3 separate regions of the Homo sapiens genome follow, and all the other regions are linked to region 3. Evidence: promoter capture Hi-C in 16 types of primary human blood cells and fetal thymus (Javierre and others, 2016). All regions are on one chromosome and are shown on one strand. The core of a region is centred on a gene start or on the middle of the fragment in contact, and the rest is flanking DNA. Distances in the headings are between cores, read along the strand shown. Region 1 has its middle 46 kb from the start of NTS. Region 2 has its middle 27 kb from the start of NTS. Region 3 holds the start of ALX1 (ALX homeobox 1).

The links. Contacts are between HindIII fragments. The CHiCAGO score rates a contact against its expected background, and 5 or more counts as called.
Region 1: a fragment that was not itself captured here is called in contact with the fragment with the promoter of ALX1 in region 3 in 3 of 17 cell types (megakaryocytes, M1 macrophages and M2 macrophages); the score reaches 6.1 in megakaryocytes.
Region 2: a fragment that was not itself captured here is called in contact with the fragment with the promoter of ALX1 in region 3 in 1 of 17 cell types (M1 macrophages); the score reaches 5.3 in M1 macrophages.

Annotation. Positions count from the first base shown.
Region 1 is chr12:85,918,326-85,921,579 of GRCh38, forward strand. No RefSeq gene overlaps it. Among named protein-coding and RNA genes, the nearest start is that of NTS, 46 kb to the left of the region's middle. The HindIII fragment of the contact is 598 bases long and covers 1,646-2,243 here.
Region 2 is chr12:85,899,224-85,902,825 of GRCh38, forward strand. No RefSeq gene overlaps it. Among named protein-coding and RNA genes, the nearest start is that of NTS, 27 kb to the left of the region's middle. The HindIII fragment of the contact is 217 bases long and covers 1,159-1,375 here.
Region 3 is chr12:85,278,786-85,282,215 of GRCh38, forward strand. It overlaps ALX1 (ALX homeobox 1), which reads left to right and starts at 1,435. Exons shown (of 4, transcript NM_006982.3): 1 at 1,435-1,702. The coding sequence starts at 1,477. RefSeq lists a silencer at 1,526-1,820. The HindIII fragment of the contact is 8,678 bases long and covers 1-3,430 here.

The DNA of each region.
Region 1 (3,254 bases), core at 695-3,194, 640 kb after region 3:
AACCTGTAAGGATTTTTATAAGTATTGCATTAAATCTGTAGATCAATTTTAGAAAAATGAACAACTTCAAAATATTGAATTTTATAATCCACATACCTGGCATATCTTTTTTCTAACACTCCTTTAATCTCCCTCAAAAGTAAAAAAAGATAATTTTGCATAGAGCTCTTGCAATGTTTTGTTAAATTTATTTCTACATAATATTGTTATTGTTCTTATAAACAATAACTTAATTTGTTATCACTTCATAAAAATATACTTGATTTTTAAAAATATATTTACCTATTTAAGTCCTTTGTCCATTTTTGAATTGGGGTTTTTGTTGCTGTTTTAAGAGTCTTCTACAGATTATAGGTGTTAGTCCCTTACGAGACATGTGATTTGTAAAGCTGTTTTTTGTTTTTTTTTTTTCCTTCTGTAAGTTATCTTTTTACCAGCACCACTTTTACTGTTCTTTTACTATTGAATGGTCTTGGCACCACTAAGGAAGTCATTTGACCATATATGCCAAAATTAATTTCTGGGATCTTTAATCTGTTACAATGGACTGTAAGTCTGTCTTTATTCCAGTACCACAATGTTTTGATTACTGTAGCTTTGTAGTAAGTTTTGAAATAAGAAAGTATGAGTAATCCAATTTTGTTCTTTTTTGTCAAGATTATTTTGGTGATTTGAGGCCCCTTAGGTTACATATTAATTTTAGGATTTATTTTTCTATTTCTTTAGAAAACAATGTCGAGATTTTGATAGGGATTGCAATGAATCTTTAAATTGTTTGGGGAAGTATTGACATCTTAACAATTTGAAGTCTTCCAATTAAAGAATATAGGATATCTTTCCATTTATTGATGTCTTCTTTAATTTCTCTCATAAGTGTTCTGTAGTTTTCATTGTACAAGTCTCTCACTCCCTTGGTTAATTCCTAAGTATTTTCTTCTTTTTGGTACTATTGTAAACAGATTTGTTTTCTTAATTTTCTTTTTGGATTGTTCATTGTTAAAGTATAGGGTCACAAATAATTTGTGTTGATTTTGTATCCTGCTACTTTACTAAATTTGTTTATTCATTTTAAGTGATGTTTTAAGTAGAATCTTTAGGGCTTTCTGTATGCAAGATTATATCATCTGCCTTAGAAAGGAGCGTCACAATAATTTATCAAGAATTTGTCTCCATTTACTTCAATACTTTTATGGTGGTGAAAATAGGTTAGAATGACTATTGGTATATAAATTTAAAAGAATAATAGATAATTAAAGATATTTTGATGAGTGGCAGGTTATTTAAACACATTTGTGCTATAGATAAAGAAACTTAATGTCAGTTTATTTATTTATTTACTTTTGAGATGATGGAGTCTCACTCTGTCACACAGGCTGGAGGGCAGTGGCGCGATCTCGGCTCACTGCAACCTCCGCCTACCGGGTTCAAGCGATTCTCCTGCGTCAGCCTCCCGAGCAGCTGGGACTGCAGGCAGGTGCTACCACGCCAGCTAATTTTTGTATTTTTTTAGTAGAGACGGGGTTTCACCATATTGGCCAGTCTGGTCTCAAACTCCTGACCTCGTGATCCACCCGCCTCAGCCTCCCAAAGTGCAGGGACTACAGGAGTGAGCCACCGCGCCAGGCCTGATGTCAGTATATTCAAAAGCTTCGAGTTCTCTGACTGTGGAGTTAACCTTTGCTCCTCAGTTACTTTGAGGCATTGTAAATCCTGGGGCCTAATTCACATGGACCTCCTTTAGAATAATCAAAGATGAGATAAAAATACAGAATATTTTTATAGCATTTTAATTATCTTGGAAAATAGTCAAGTTAATTACTCTCTTTAAAAACTAAAAAACACAACTTCATTTCCTGATCGTACCGGAAAAAGAGAACCTATAAGTTATCTTTACACATTCCAATAATCTTTATTACATCACCTTATATGGCATTTTAAAGTTGCCATTAGCATAACTTATTGTTGTGATTGTATATCTATAAATAATCTTATATTTAGGAGTATAAGGCAGATGGGTTTTCTTGCACAATTCATAATTTCAAGGATGTGAACAGAGAAATAAAAATGATACAAAGATAGGTGCATAGATTATAGGATCTAATTTTGGAATTATAGACAAATTTCAGAGATGCACGGAAAAGACTACCTGTGACGATAAGCAAATCTAAAGAGGGCGTTTAAAATATATTTTTATTTTTTGCATTATATTGCCACCTAGTGGTTACAACAGATATGAAAAGCAAAGCTTTTATAACCTTTGATGTCAGAAAGCCTTAACAGTCAACAAATACTGAAAAGAGAGAAGAGATGAATACATTTTAATGTTACTTTCTTTTTTCATTTTCTCTGCTCATCTGCTTAGAGAGATAATCACTAGTTCTGTGGAAGGCAGGAGGGGAAATAATTCAGACCCTTCCCACTAGCAGTGACTATGGCTAAATTTCTGCTTACATACTTGAAGACAAACATACAGCATCAACAGGATATTAATTTCTTTATAAAGACTATACAGTCTAGACAGTATTTAATAAGAATATGTGCCCTACTAAATAACTCTGGCTTTTATTCTAAATAAATATTTTTCTTTTTAATTGCAAGGAGCCCTCAGTTTAGCTCAGAATTCCCTTGCTGAGCCACCATAAGAAAATGGTGCTAATACAAAATACAAATACAAAATAGTCTCCCCATCCCCTATTTCTCTATCTTTTTGCTGTATCTGGCCAAGCTTTGAATAGTCTCCCCTATTCAAATTTTTCAACTCATATGAAAAGAGAAATGCCAATTCGTTCTTTAACATTGTAGGCCAGCATTTCTTGCATAATATTATAACCAATAAAATTTGAGCTCAATGAATAATGACCATATATCACATTATATATTTTGAATTTTAAAATTAAAAAATTATATTTATATATTTATTTGTGTCCAAATTGGAATAAAAATAATTTTATTTATAAAAATAATTTTCATTTAATGAAGTTTAACAGTACAAAATAAGCTATAAAGCTACCACCTTTAAGTTGTTCATCTCCTTACCAACTAGTATATAAGGTCATATATTTTATATATGATTTTCTGAGGCTTAGTAGAGAAGGAAACCCTGGAAATTATAATATACTTAGAAAACCTGGTATATGTCCAGGGAAGTCAAATTTGTTAAAACATAATAAACATTTATTAAATAAGTGAAGGAATGACTAAATGAATGGATGGATGTATGGATGGACGGAGGGAAGGAGGGATGGATGGATGGA
Region 2 (3,602 bases), core at 17-2,516, 620 kb after region 3:
ATGACAGAAAATCTTTTAGTGCTTCCAAGCTTTTCATAAATGACTGCATCTGATGTCTACTTTGTTCCAATTAAAATTACATTAGACTTTTATTGGGCATTCAATATACAGACTTTAGGAGAAGAATTCTCATGAGTACTGAAATACTAACAGCTGGAAATATGTATAAATAAATCTACATAAGAGTTTTTGAGTGTTCTCAGCAGGGTCCTGGGGAAAAATAAGTGAGGAATTTAAACTATTTCTTGCTATATTATTATTGGTAACTTTGGAAGGAGGCATAAAGCAATGTACTGTGAGGCTACCTTCAGCATGGGACAGTCTAATGAAAGAAAAGATATCTGACATTTACAAGAAAAGCCTTCATGTCCCTGGATTTAAATTCAGTGAGTGTTAAAGTATCCTGTTTCATGCTTGTAAAGCTAATTCCTGCTTACTGAAGAACTTACCACTTTTCTAGTAGATGGAAGCTGGCTGTTTAACTGTCCTCAGGTAAGCAGTTCGACTCATTTGCTCTCCTAACCAAATTTTAATCAAGGGAAAACTGTCAACATAGAGAGCAGTTTAGATATGTTCACTTTTCTCCTTCTAAAATGTCTTCTTGCTATCTAAAATGTGCCCAAATACAACCAAATAATAGAGTTGCCAAAATAGTTTCATGAAATTCTGAGTGATAATCACAAAGACACCAGGATGAGTACCAAGGCCAGGTTAGTTTTCTGAGAACATCATTATTTAGGGTTTTAAGTCTTAAAGCTTTGTTTTGTTTTCAGACTCTTTTTTTTTTTCCAAAGAATTTTGATACCAATTTCATCAAGATGCAAAAAAGGGTCTAGTTATTAAAATTAATTAAATTTTCTTTTAATTAACAAATACTTCTTGAGTACCTACTTTCTGAGACACTGTGAATAGCATTGCAAACACCAGTATAAAGACATCCTTCCAACTGTGTGTAAATAATACCTTTCAGTATTACATGTTTTTTTCAGATGAATAAGTTCAGGCAAAGGGATATGCTCATGAACAGAGCACTGACAGAAATTCTTTTTACCCTGTGTTTCATCTTACCTCAATCCTGCCTCCTGTAACACAGATGCCTTCTTGGACCATAAGGTCTGGGGAAACACACAAAGTGTGGCACAACAGCGACTTGGAAGAAGCTTAAGTCACTGAGAAGCAGAGGCACCTCACTAGCCCTGGATGATACACCTCTGGATTTTTATATGAGAAAGAAAAAACACTTATGTTTTGTTAAGCTGGTTGTAATTTTAAGATTTTCTCTTATTAAAGCTAAAATTATGATCAAATCACCTCCCAATCTCCTTTTGCCTTATAAATCCTTCACCACATAGACCAGAAATCATTCCTACTGACAAGCTTCCCCTGATAAGGACTAACCAAAGCAGCTAAAATGTAAAGTAAAATAAATTTCTACAATGCAGCATAAATAGGAAATATGACATAGAACCTAAGAAACAGAGGATTGAGAAAATGTGAGGCACAGACAAATTTAAAGAGATTTCTAAGCACTTACAGAAAGTTTAAGGATTCCCAAGCAGGATGAATAAAACAATATTTATATACAGACAATTATTAGTGAAACTACAGAACACAAACAACTCTTAGAAGCAGCAAACTATTTCTAACTCCACATAATCTAATCACTTAAAAACTGGTAAATAGACTGAATTGAATTCTCAGTAACAATAGAAGTCGGAAGACAGTGAATCGTCTTTAACGTGTCAAGAAAAATAACTCTCAGCTGAGATTTCTGTGCCCAGTAATAGAACATTTCAAGAGCAAGTAAAAAATAACGATCATTTCTTTAATTTAGAGATTTTGACAGCATAGAAAATAATTTTGGAAAGAAAATAATTCTATTAAAATACCTGGGATGCAAGAAGAAGTGGTGAGTAAAGGTATTGGTAAATATGAGCTAAATCAAAACGCCAATAGACTACATTAGGGAGAGTAATAGTATAAACTTTGAGGGATTAAAAAAGGCAAACTTTTGATTGAATCAAAACACTCATCAGCATCTTCATATTAGAAAGAAAGGAGTTGGAGGCTAAAATATTTAAGTTGTTGAATTATTTCAGAACATCTAAATACATCGATTGATGTATGACTCAAAGTATACACCAAAATAATAGGTATAGAGTAATTTGTAAACTGGCAAAGAAAAAAAAACATGGAAAGGAGATAAATAAAGGGGAAAAATAAGTTCAATAAATCTTGAAGATGGCTTGAGAAGAAAAACAGAAAATAAATAGGAAATGAAAAATAAATCAGTCATCTGTGGTGTGACTTTGGGAATGATGATGTGACGTTTTCTATGAAACCTCTCCCATAAGGAGACATTTTATTAAAGGTATCAAAAACATGAAAAATAAAATATTCAAAATCTATCCAAATTGATTGAAGAACTTGTAACAAATTAAGAGGCATTTACTCAGCACATCTACAGAACTTGGTAAGAGCGGGGCAGGTCATGTCATTGGAACTCAGAGCTGCACCCATTCCTCCACAGTTCTGTATGCTGAAAGAGTAATTTTTCTGGGCTCAACAGCAAAGTGGTAGTTTTCATATCCCCCAACTTTCTATTAAATAGTATGGAATTGCTATTTTGGGTGGACTCAATAACAAATAAAACATGGTCAGATCCCGTCTTACCTGGCTCTGCGTTGCTGAAGATATATACTGGGCAGTGGTGGCAGCTAGATGATGACTCCAATTCTTCCTTCCCTAACAACTTGTTCCTCAGGGAGGATCATCATGGCACAGGCAGTGAAAAGAGGTTTCTAATCTACCCCTAGATATATATAGGCAAGAGAAATGAAAACGTGTCCACACAAAATCTTGCACACAAATGTTCATACCATCAGCATTTATGATAGTTAATAGGGGAAACACAGCTCTCCATCAATTGACGAATAGGTAAACAAAATATAGTATAACTCAAAATGTTATACATATTAAAGTGAGTTACAAATAACATGTTACGTGATTCCAATCATACAAAATATGCAAAATAGGCAATTCCATAGAGAAATATGATAGATTAGTGGTTGCTTAGGACTTACGGAAGGGAGATGTGACGGCTAATGGGTATAAGGTTTCTTTTGGAGTGATGAAAATGTTCTCAAATTACATTATAGTAAAGCCTGTACTACTCTGTAAATAGACAAAAAACCATTATAAACTATAAACTTTAAACAGGTGAACTTTATTTTGCATAAATTATATATCAATAAAAATATTAATGTAAAAAATGATGAAAATAACATGAATAAACCATTGGTTTCAATGTATGAGGCAAAATAAATGACAGAACTGCAAAGATAATCAATAAATCCAGCAACAAAGTGGTAGGTTTTACTACCTGTTGTTATGGAGTAAATTGTGTTTTTTCCAAAATTTATATGTTGAAGCCCCAACCGCCAGTATTTTAGAATGTGGCTGTATTTAGAGAGAAGGACTTTAAAGAGATAATTAAGGTGAAATGAGATAACAAATGTGGGTCCTAATCCGATCTGACTGTTGTCTTCACAAGAAAAGGAAGAGATAACAGAGATGTCTGTGCACAAAGGAAATGTCATATG
Region 3 (3,430 bases), core at 185-2,684:
TGTCTGGGGAAACGCGACGGCCGCTGTGAGTGCCAGTGTTGACAAAGGCTGTGTCAGGACGTCTAAGCAGAGGCCTACCTGGACCAAAACCTGTCTGGCTTATTTTCACCAAATTTGCTAGCTTAGGGTGCCTGACGCAAATGCGATTTTGTGCCCAGGGCACCGAACGCATTTCCCCCAAGCGCCGCGGGCTCCTAGGAAGCCAAGAGTCGTGCCAAAAGTCACACAGAAGGGCTTTCAACCTAGCAGTGCTGTCCTGCCTGCCCTACCATCCCCTCTGGTGGAAATGGAGGCCTTGGACCTGTCCGCGCCCAGGACGCCGCGCCGCGAGTGCCCGCAGCTCCGCGCGCTCACCACTCACTCCCAGAGCGCTTTTCGGAGTAACTCCACAGCAACTCTTTAAAATTAAAAGTAATTTCTGTAAAAATATGCAGACATTCCTCTTCTTCATAAACCCCTATTTGTAACAATCCTCACTTTGGCATTAGAGTAAAAGCCTTTCAAAGGCACTGATCCTAACGGGTTTTCTTAAAATAATTTGGGTCTAATGATAAAATCGTGGACCAAAGGGAAGGGTGGCGAAGAGGGTGTAGGGAATTGGTTGGCATTAGTATAATGGCTTCATTGCCTCTTGCTCGGCTTCTCTCTCCCACCCATCGCCACCGCGTCCACACTCCGCCGCATTCCAGAGAAAAAGAAAAGGCCACGGCCTCGTAAAGCTCCCAGCTGGCCCGGACCCCGAGCTCCTCCCGGTTAGAAGCCGAAGCGGCCCCTCTACTACGGCGGCTGCGATTAACAGTTGCCAATGCATCTGGTTCCTTGGGCTTCGGATTAATGTGAATCTTCCACGTAAACGATTTACGGATGAAATAAAAGCCTTTTAGAGCAATATTTCCTTTCAAGTTCTTAAGACGCCTCTAAATCTTTCTGGTAGTGAGTGGCCGGCATGGGGGCGGGGTGGGGACGGGTGGCTCAGGAAGGCGCAGGCAGTAGGGAGTGGAGGTTTAACTGCTTTGCGATCTCACCAAGATCTTCCGAAATGCCAGTCCACTGTCACGGCGGCAATGAATCTGGGTGTCAGGGGCTCGTCTCTCCTGGCATTTGTCTGAAATGGAGCTGTCTGTCTGTCTATCCTAGGCCTGGACGCCCTCTGCCCGGGTAAGTGGGGAAAATGGGGGTGGGGTAGGGGCGGAGGGGGACCTGGGGTGGAGTTAGTCGCCCGCCTATTTTCATATTCATTAGAACTGGGAGGCTGCCCGAGGAGGCCAGCTGAGTTTCAAGATATAAAAGCAACTTCGGGTGCTCCTTTTCCAGCCGGGACGTATTAAAGGGACCGGAGCGGGGCAGTTCCCGACGCCGCAGCGCTCGCTTTCCCTTCCCTCCTCTCTGGCCCTCCCTCCTCCCACCCACTGGCTCCCTCCCCCAGCGCTCTCCAGTTTCTGTGCCCCAGGAGCTACGCGACAGTCTTCCAGGATTATGGAGTTTCTGAGCGAGAAGTTTGCCCTCAAGAGCCCTCCGAGTAAAAACAGTGACTTTTACATGGGCGCAGGAGGTCCTCTGGAGCACGTTATGGAGACGCTGGACAATGAGTCCTTTTACAGCAAAGCGTCTGCAGGCAAATGCGTGCAGGCCTTCGGACCCCTGCCCCGCGCCGAGCATCACGTGCGCTTGGAGAGGACCTCGCCCTGTCAGGACAGCAGCGGTGAGTCGCTAGCGCCCCAGCCGGAGCCGCCGCAGCCCTTCCGCAATCGAAAATGCAGGATCGGTCTGATCAGGCAGGGAGGGAGAAAGGAGAAAAGTGGGAGCGAGGGACCTGGAAGGTGGAGGAAGGTAGTGGAAGGTGCTCGCTTTATGAAGCGGTGTTACTGCTGCTGCAGCCTTTGGGGGCGGAGGGCGGAGGGAGGGAGAGATCCAGCACCGGGTTGCCTCTGAGCGATTCTCCTTTCGCTGTAGGGTCTGGTCGCCTACGGATCCCTGAGTCCTTCTGTAATATTGGTTCCTGGAGTAAACTGATAGGGCGCTAAATAGAGCGTAATTGAGTCAAGACAGAACGCTTCCTCTGCGAGCCCGCCTTGCAGTCCGGGCGGTAGGAACTGAAATCGATCACAGCTCGTTAGAGTACGTCACTGTCGTCACGAGTAGGGAAAAAAAAACCGGAAAACAAAAACAAAAAACAAAAAACCCTTTGAGCTCCTTTAGGTAAAGATAAATCTTTTTAATTTTCCAAGACGTGGCGATATATTTTCAAAGTTTGAGGATCCCTAGATTTCTAGCGTGTGTGAATTTGTAATTTCTGCTTTTTTTTGCGTTTGCAATACAACACGCGTTGAATGTTTGTTAAACACTAAAGCACACTAAATAGCTTCGGGCAAACCATCCCCGGCCTAATCACTCATTCCCAGATTCTACGTTTTGTATTTTTATGACTTCACATTAAAAGTCACCTAAGGAGTCTTTGGAATGCTTCTGGGTGAAATCTTCAACTTTGAATGCCCAAGTATCTCCAAGTCAAAATGTTATCAAAACAAACCATCTATCTTTTCTATCTTGTAACCTAATACTAACCTATTATTTCAGATCGCGACAGCTAAAGCACGTTTACAATTCCAAGAGAACTTCTCCTTATCATTGTATATATTCCACAGTTAAGCTATAAGGGGCGGGTTGCTTTAAAATAACAAACGAATTAAGTGTGAAATATTTACAACAAGCCCCCTGCCCCCTATTTTATAGAAATTCAAAATCTGACAAAACACTGGCCTGTAGAAGCTCATTTTCTAAATATTTTGAACACAAGTTTTTTTCTTTTATTAATCTCATATTTAACTAATTTTATTTAACGTTGCAAGTAACTTTTGACTAAGGGTAAATCAAAAATAAAGGTGCAAATGATAGAGAAAATAATCAGCTAAGTCGTTTCAGTCATTTATTTAGAAAGATTCGAGCGTATACTTTTTGTTATTCTTACACTGAGTTGTTGGTTTTCTGGCTGCGTTTCAGACCTGGTATCTGTATTTGTGGAATTCTTAGGTGCATGCCTAACGTTATTTGAATTGACAGGTCTTTCTTTAATGATTCTGCAATGTCTTGTATTGACTCTGGATGGACTTGATCATAATATTTTATTTTGAATAGTCGAGAATCCAAAATAAGAGACATAATTGATGCGTTATCAACTTTTAAACAAATATCACACTATTAAGATGAATTATAACAAAGAAGTGTTAAGGAAGATGAACATAGGCAGTCATCCGCTTAATTTAGGAGAGATCCTGTCTTTCTCTTGAGATGCCCTTAGCCTCTCTGATGCTTCCCCTCCCCCATCCCTAATTGCTGCAGTTCCCCCTTTAATTTTGCCCAAGGAGATAGAACCGTTTGTTAATCAGTCATGGCTCTTCTTTATATTTGGTTTAACATCACATCTTCGTTT